3 separate regions of the Homo sapiens genome follow, and all the other regions are linked to region 2. The links are contacts of gene promoters, found by promoter capture Hi-C in human tissues and cell types (Jung and others, 2019). All regions are on one chromosome and are shown on one strand. The core of a region is centred on a gene start or on the middle of the fragment in contact, and the rest is flanking DNA. Distances in the headings are between cores, read along the strand shown. Region 1 overlaps KCNJ10 (potassium inwardly rectifying channel subfamily J member 10). Region 2 holds the start of CASQ1 (calsequestrin 1). Region 3 overlaps COPA (coat protein complex I subunit alpha).

Region 1 (2,700 bases), core at 127-2,626, 140 kb after region 2:
GATAAAGCACTTTCCCTGCTGGTGCAGCTTTTCTCTTTCCCCTGTACCTGCTGTCCCTGGGAGGAGGTTGAAGCACTCTTTCTAGTCAGAAGTGTATTTGAGGAAGAGAAACCCAGGAGCGAAGTAGCAAAAAGCAAAGGGGAGCCACAGATCAAGTTATTGAGAGTCACAAGAACAACAGTGTCCTTACTCAAGAAAGGCCCTGATAAATCCATGTATTATCCTGGAGAATAAATGACTCTCAAGTAGAACAAATGACTCTCAAGTAAAATAAATGAGTGCACAGGCAAAAAAAGACAGCTTCAGGAAGAACTTCCGGGGGTAGCAGTAAGTGGGAGTGGTACTTGCTGAGGGAACGTGCTGATCATCACTGTAGCTATGACTGGCTTTGTTTTAGGGAAAGGATCACTAGTTCAGTCTTAGAGGAGAAAGAAGGTGAATATCTCTGTTTCTGTCTCTTTCGCCACTCAGGCTGGTCTTCAGAATTCTGTCTCTGGTATTTGGCCGGCTGGGACTGTTTTGGGGAAATAGCACCCTCTAGAGGAAAGAGTATGTTTTATTTTGCGGGGGTGCCCCGGGGTGGTGGGGTGCGCAACAGATGATTTCCAGAGCTTTGGCTCGATTCCTTCCCCAGGGGCCTGGCCAGCTTTGGGGTGGAGTGTAGCTGATTGTTTATCCGCTTCTGACTCTGGCCACCGCAGAGAACAAAGCTGCCTGGCTGTGGGAGGTGGCACAACAGCTGGGAGCAGCAGATAACAGCTGGAGGTGGCAGATACAAAGGCTGGCAACCACAGGCACTACAGCTGGAGGTGGCAATCACAACAGCCAGAGGCAACAAAGAGGCTAGCAGTGGCCGAAATCTCCAGTACCCTTGAGTCTAGAGCCTTAACCCTGGGATGTGTGGTCTTACATACAGCGTACCATAGTGGCACCTGCTGAGAGCATGAGGTCCAAGAGAATGAACCTGGGGCACACAAAAGCAGTTGCTACAATTAAAAAGTTCTGGACCAGGAGCTGGGAGACCTGGATTCTGGTTCCAACTTTACCACTAATCTACTTGGGGCAAAGCTCTCTGAGCCTTAGCTTCTATGGTGTCTTTCTTACCTACCTCATGGTGTGAGGATCAAACTATATATTTTATAAATTTTAAAGTGAGAAGGAATTATAGACTAATATTTTGGGAATGATAAGCAAGGCTTTTCTTGGGCCCTAAGAGCTTCCATTCTCCAAGATATGTAGAATCTCCCCTCAACATAAACAAAGCTAGGACTTCAGTAAAGGATCCCTGAATGTCACCATAGAAAGTGCAGGGGTAGAAGTGGGGTGGAGAAGGCAGACATCCTCACCCACCATGGGTATAGACAGAATCTTCAAGACAGTCTTTCAATCTCCCATCCAAAGCTTTTATCTCCGCCATAGGATCTCTGCAAAGTGCTTGTCCAAAGTGCCTTCCTGATTGTTACAATGCTCTTTATAATATCAACTTGCAATCTTTATCCCTGCAGTATGAACTCCCTGATTGTTCCTCTTGGAGCTCAAAGGACAAGTCCAAGCCTTTGATCACGTGATAGTCCTTCAAACCAAATATTTGCACACATTCATTATATCTTTCTGATTGTCTCTTCTCCTGAATCAACTTCCCTATTTCCTTCAATCATTTCTCATGTGGTCTGGTTCTGAATCCTCTCATATCCTGAGTGTTCCTTGATGCTGGATACTGCAGGTGTGGGATGAACAGAGCAGAGTAGAATCAACTACTTTTTTGTTCTAGGGACTTCAGTTCAACTGAAGGAGCTTAAGATTAGTTTGCTTTTTTGGCAATCAAAACACATGAATAACTCATATTGGATTATTTTCTGCTAATATGTTTAATTTTTTTATATTGTACTGCTTTGCTAAATCACATCTTCTCAATCCAGAACTTGCTCAGGTAATTTTTGGACCCAAGTACATAATCCAGCACTTAACATTTTTGTTAGACTTGGCCTACTTATTTGACTCCTTTTGGATCCTAATTCTGCCCCAGCTCTTGCATTTGCTATCTGTCCCAGCTTTCTGTCAGGCACACAATTGATGGCCATAGCATTCTATAGTTTTGAATGAAGTTCATGTTAAGAAAATTGAATAGGGCAAGGCCAAAGATGAAGCTCTCTGGTGTATCAATAGAAAATGAATTCCAGGCTATCATGGTCCCCTCACCAGTACCACTGATTTTTAAAGTCACCGAATTAGATTAGCATTCTCTTCATTTTTCTTTATCTTATCCCCAGGTCATAATGAGAGATCTTGTCAAAAATCTCCTGAAGTTTAGGTACACGTTCTCTGTTGCACTTCTTCGATTTGTCAATTTAGTAGCCTTATCATAAAAGAAAATTAGGTTATTATTGTTTTTGAGACAGGGTCTCATTCTGTTGCCCAGGCTGCAGTGCAGTGGCATGATTATAGCTCTCTGCAGCCTCCAACTCCTGAGCTCAAGTGATCCTCCTGCCTCAGCCTCCAAGTAGCTGGGAGTACAGGTGTGTGCTACCATATCCAGCTAATTTTTAAAAATTTTTGCTGATATGGTGTCTTGCTGTTTCCCAGGATGGTTTTGAACTTCTGATCTCAAGTGATCCTCCTGCCTCAGCCTCCCAAAGTGCTGGGATACAGGTATGAGCCACCACACTCAGCCAAAATTAGGCCATTTTGATGTGACTTGTT
Region 2 (2,700 bases), core at 150-2,649:
GAGCACTCAGGATAAAAATACTCGGCTCATTAATCAGATGGCAGGTTCTAGCACCCAGCAGGGGTGCACAAAATGAGAGCCTGTGGTTCTGGTGTCTCACCCTGAAATGCTCCAAGCTCTGGACAAGCTGAGGCCAGAGAAGGGGCCACAGGAGCTTGGACAAGAAAACTCACATCCCATTTCCTAAAGGTGTGTGTGTATGAACACATTCCCAAACATAGGTTTTTTTTCTTTTCTTATGATAACTTCTTTCTCCTTTGGGCCTGAAGTCATTTTGGAGGTGAGGAGACTTTTCCCACAAAAAGAAGATTGGGGAAGACATTCTGACACCTCCTGCAACCATAAGAATTTTCCAGTGAGGGCATCCAGCTTATCCAATGGAGACAAATGGGGAATTAGGGAGGGGGAAGGAAGAGAGAGGGGACTGGGAGTCCAATGGGAGGCATGATCTCTAGGAGATATTTAAACATGGCATGCAAGTATCATAACATTTACATTTACACTCAGTTTGGATCTCTTTGGGGTGCAGCCCCTGAAGTATGTGGAGAGGACGTGTTCTGGCTAAGCAGATGGGTGGGGTAGGGGAGTGCAATATACACTGCTGTTCTCCCCTGGCCCTCCAAGTACCTCCCTTTTTCACCCTCAGTGTCCTAGCCAAACCTAAGTCAAATACTACCAGCCTCCTATAGCAGGGAGGGGAGCTCTTCCTGCAGCACCCCTGCTAAAGGTTTCCTGACGCTGATAGTACTTTTGGGTTCCTGAGACTCTGTTTCTCATTTGACTAAAGCCACATGCCACTTGCATCCTGTTGGTCAGGACAGGGTTCCTACCACACTGCCCCTCACCCCCAGATCCCATCCTCAAAGAGCTACATGGGTGTAGGATAGGGGATTCCGGAGAGGGGCTAGACATGCTCTGCAGGCCTGCAGTGCCCCCAACTCACCTCCAGGATCAGCTCCTCCATCTCAAATTGTCTTTGTGAGGCCTTGTCATCCTCGGGGGGTTCATGGTAGAGGAGTGCCAGCACCTCATACTTCTTGAACACATTCTTGTAGTTCTTTGCATTGACATTGATCACACGGTCCACACCATCGTACTCAGGGAAGTCCAGCCCTTCCTGCCCCTGTACCCCTGACTTGGGTGTCCCTAGCACCAGCAGCAACAGCAGTGCCAGCCGCAGACCCGGCACAGCTCTGGGCCCCATCCTGTCTGTAGCACTCATGGAGGTAGTGGGATCTGGGTTGGCTCTCCTGGTCCAGAAGAGGTTAGCTGGGGTAGGGAGGGGCCCCTGGGTCCCAGATTCTGAGTTAGGGGCTCAAGTGGGAGGGGGGATTGGGGAATGGCCCAGAGCAGTGGACAGAGGGCACTGCTGGGTCCTGGAGAAACTGCCGACAGAGCCAAGGGAAAAAGGGTCAGGTGGAGGAATAGGAGCAGGGGGCGGGGAGGGAACCGGAGCTGCCCCCTGAAATTGGCACCCCTCAGTCCCCACCTGGTCCTGTCTAAATATGTCTCCATGGTTGGCAGGAGAGACGGATAACCTTCTGAGGCCAGGACAGCTCCATGCGGGCCGGAATCCTCCCACCTCCTACACTTCTACCCCAGGCTCCCAGGGGCTCCTTCCCTCCCCCTCCTCCAGTGTCCAGGGCACCTCAGCCCCGGTCCCCACACTGGCCTAAGAGCTCATCGCCATATTAAGAAAGGAAAAGGAGAGATGCCGGAGCTAAAAATAAGACCAGATGAGTCGGAGGTAAATGAAGCTGGGGCTGGGGGAGGGGAGGTATAAGGGTAATTAGGGTGGGCCGAGGGTGGGGCAAGGGTAATTAGAAGTTAAATGCAGTGGAGAGGAGGAGCTAACTGGGTCAGAGGCTAAATTGATAATATAGGACAAAAGGGGGACAAATGTGGTATTGGCTCTATGTCCTAAAGCCTGGGAATCTTCTGTAGGTGAAGTCTGATTCTGATTCTTTGATACTATGTAGGAGAGTGGGGCGATAAAAGTGCAAGCCAGGCTGCAGGAAAGAGACCCCCTCCACTTTCTTTTAAAGAACCAGGACCAAGGATGAGGTCATTCTCTGAATAAAAGATGGAGCCGCGTCCAAGACTGGCAACCTGGCTCAGCTCCAGCCAGTTTCCTTTGCTTCACTCAGCACTCCTAACTTGGGAATGCAGGGAAGGACAGGGCTGGCCCAGATCCTGTCCTGTAGAGATGTGGGTTTGGGGTTTCTCTGCCTATAAAGCCCACAATGAGAAGGGGTCTGTCCTTTGGTTGCCACCTGTGTGTGCACTCCCTACCCTGATCCTATGGGACTCGGTTTTCTGGGGCACAGTGGGAAGGGAGGTTTTCCCAGGCTGCATGCTTCCAAGGAGAGTGAATAGCTACTATTTATTCCCATGTCTTTGACAAGACAAAGAGGATCAGGTATTGACACCAGGGCAAAAAAAAATTAACATTAGGCAAGCATGAAGAGGTGAACCCTGTGCCCTGAACCAAGACTGATGATTAATTCTGTGCACCCGAGATCCAAAGCAGAGATGGGCGGGTAGGGGCTTAAACTTCTGGATCCAGCTTGGGGGGTGAGGACAGAGTAGTGAGTTTAACTCTGGATACGTAGGAAGGAAGGATCCTCTTCATGGCCCTCCAGGGTTCTTACTATGCACAGGTAAACTGAGGCATGAGGGAGACCATAGAGGGTCAGATCA
Region 3 (2,700 bases), core at 68-2,567, 130 kb before region 2:
ACCACCACACCTGGCTAATTTTTGTACTTTTTTTAGAGACGAGGTTTCACCATGTTGGCCAAGCTGGTCTCGAACTCTTGACCTCAAGTGATCTGCCCACCTTGGCCTCCCAAAGTGCTGGGTTTATAGGCATGAGCCACTGCACCTGGTCATGCTACTGATTTTTGTATGTTGATTTTGTATCCCGCAGCTGGACTGAATTTATCATTTTGGTTGAGTCTTAGGTTTTTCTAAGTATATGATAATGTCATCTGTGAACAAGGGTAATTTTTCCAATTTGTTTGTCCTTTATTTGTTTCTCATACCTACTTGACCTGGCCAGGACTTCTAGTGTTTTGTCGAATAAAAGTGGTAAAAGTGGGCATCCTTGCCTTCTGGTCCGTAGAGAAAAGGCCTTCAATTTTTTCCCATTAAGTGTAATATTAGTTGTAAGTTTATCATATATGGCCTTTATTGTTTTGAGGTATGCTCTTTCTCTACCCATGTTGATAATAACTTTTGTTATAAAGGGATGTTGAATTTTATCCAATGTTTTTTCAGCATCTGCTTAACTATCATATGGTTTTTATTTTTGATTTTGTTAATGTGATATATCATGTTTATTGATGTATATTGAACCATTCTTGCATCCCTGAAATGAATCCCACTTGATCTTAGTAAATGATCTTATCAGTATACTATTGAATTTGGTTTGCTAATATTTTGTTGAGGATTTTTGCATCTATGTTCATCAGTGATATCGGCCTGTAGTTTTCTCTTTTTGTGGTGTCCTTGCCTGGTTTTGTTATCAGAGTAATGCTGGCCTCATAGAATGAGTTTGAAAATATTCCCTCCTCTTCCTTTTTTTTTTTTTTTTTTTTTTTTAAGAGTTTGAATAGGATTGGCATTAATTCTTTAAATGTTTGGTAGAATTCAGCAGTAAAGCAGTCAGGTCCTGGGCTTTTCTTTGATGGGAGAATTTTTATTAAGGCTTTGATCTAGGCACTGGTTTTTAGAAGTTTTTCTATTTTATCGTGGTTCAATCTTTTTTTTTTTTTTTTTTTTTTTTGAGTTGGAGTCTCGCTGTGTTGCCTAGGCTGGAGTGCAGCAGGGCAATCTTAGCTCACTGCAGCCTCCACCTCCTGGGTTCAAACAATTCTCCTGCCTCAGCCTCCCAAGTAGCTGGGACTACAGGCTGTGCCACCATACCCAGCTAATTTTTATGTTTTTAGTAGAGACAGGGTTTTGCCATGTTGTCCAGGCTGGTCTTGAACTCCTGACCTCAAGTGATCCACCTGTCTCCACCTCCCAAAGTGCTGGGATTACAGACGTGGGCCACCATCCCTGGCCTCGTGGTTCAATCTTTGTAGGTTGTATGTGTCTAGGAATATATCCATTTCTTGTAAGTTTTCTAGTATGTTGGCATGTCATTCTCGTAATAGTTTCTAATGATTCTTTGTATTTCTGAGGTCTCAGTTGTTATGTTTCCTTTCTCATTTCTGATTTTATTTATTTGGATCTTCTCTCCTTTTTCCTTAGTTGGTCTAGCTAACAGTTTGTTGATACTATCTTTTCAAAAAGCAAGTGTTTCGTTTCATTGATAGTCTGTATTTTTTTTAGTCTCAATTTTATTTCTGCTCTGATCTTTATTGTTTGTTTTCTTCTACTAATTTAGGGTTTGGCTTGTTTTTTATTATCTAGGTCCTTGAGGTGTATCATTAGATTGTTCATTTGGAGTCTTTCCTTTTTTTTTTTTTTTTTTTGACATAGGTGTTTATGTTATAAACTTCATTCTTAGTACTGCTTTTGTCATATCCCATAAATTTTGTTACATTGTATTGCCATTTTCATTCGTTTCAAGCAATTTTTAAATTTCCTTCTTAATTTCTTCATTGATCCATTAGTCTTTCAGGAACATGTTGTTTAACTTACATGTGTTTGTATTTTCTGAGGTTCCTCTTGTTATTGATTTCTAGTTCTATTGTGTTCAGAAAAGATACTTAATATAATTTCTATTTTTTACAATTTTTTCAAGCTTGTTTTGTGGCCTAAAGTATAGTTTATTCTGGAGAGTGTTCCATGTGCTGATGAAAAGAATATTCTGTAGCCGTTGGGTGAAATGTTCTGTAAATTGCAGTTAGGCCTATTAGATCTAGTATGTAGTTTAACTCCACTGTTTCTTTGTTGATTTACTGTATGGATGATCTGTCTGTTTTTGAGAGTGGGGTATTAGCTCTCCTACTATTATCATATTGTAGTCTACCTCTCCTTTTGGATCTATTAGTGTTTGCTTTATATACTTGGGAGCTTTGGTGTTGGGTGCACAGATACTTATAATTGTTATTTCCTCTTGCTGAATTGACCCCTTTATCATTATATAGTGACCTTCTTTGTCTCTTTTTACAATCTTAGGTTTGGTAGTCTGTTTTATCTCATGTAAGTATAGCTACGCCTGCTCTTTTCTGGTTTCCAGTTTCATGGAATATCTCCCACTCCTTCGTTTTCAGTCTATGTGTGTCTGTATAGGTAAATGGGTTTCTTGAGGGCAGCATATAGTTAGGTCTTCTCTCTTTATCCGTTTAGCCACTCTATGCCTTTTAATTGAAGAATTGAGAGCATTTACATTCAGTGATATTATTGATAAGCAAGGACTTATTACTGCTGTTTTTTGCTTGTTTTCTGGTTTTGTTTTGTTTTTTTTTGAGGCTTCTCTCTTCCTTT

Evidence for each region. Contacts are between HindIII fragments. The study calls those that stand out against the background at their distance.
Region 1: a fragment that was not itself captured here is called in contact with the fragment with the promoter of CASQ1 in region 2 in 1 of the 25 tissues and cell types used here (small bowel).
Region 3: a fragment that was not itself captured here is called in contact with the fragment with the promoter of CASQ1 in region 2 in 1 of the 25 tissues and cell types used here (bladder).

The regions. Positions count from the first base shown.
Region 1 is chr1:160,044,705-160,047,404 of GRCh38, reverse strand. The region is part of intron 1 of KCNJ10 (potassium inwardly rectifying channel subfamily J member 10); the gene reads left to right. Among named protein-coding and RNA genes, the nearest start is that of PIGM, 14 kb to the right of the region's middle. RefSeq lists an enhancer at 1,452-1,746. The HindIII fragment of the contact is 8,881 bases long and covers 1-2,700 here.
Region 2 is chr1:160,189,274-160,191,973 of GRCh38, reverse strand. CASQ1 (calsequestrin 1) reads right to left here and starts at 1,399. Exons shown (of 11, transcript NM_001231.5): 1 at 944-1,399. The coding sequence starts at 1,222. The HindIII fragment of the contact is 26,832 bases long and covers 1-2,700 here.
Region 3 is chr1:160,318,957-160,321,656 of GRCh38, reverse strand. The region is part of intron 8 of COPA (coat protein complex I subunit alpha); the gene reads left to right. Among named protein-coding and RNA genes, the nearest start is that of COPA, 23 kb to the left of the region's middle. The HindIII fragment of the contact is 4,225 bases long and covers 1-2,700 here.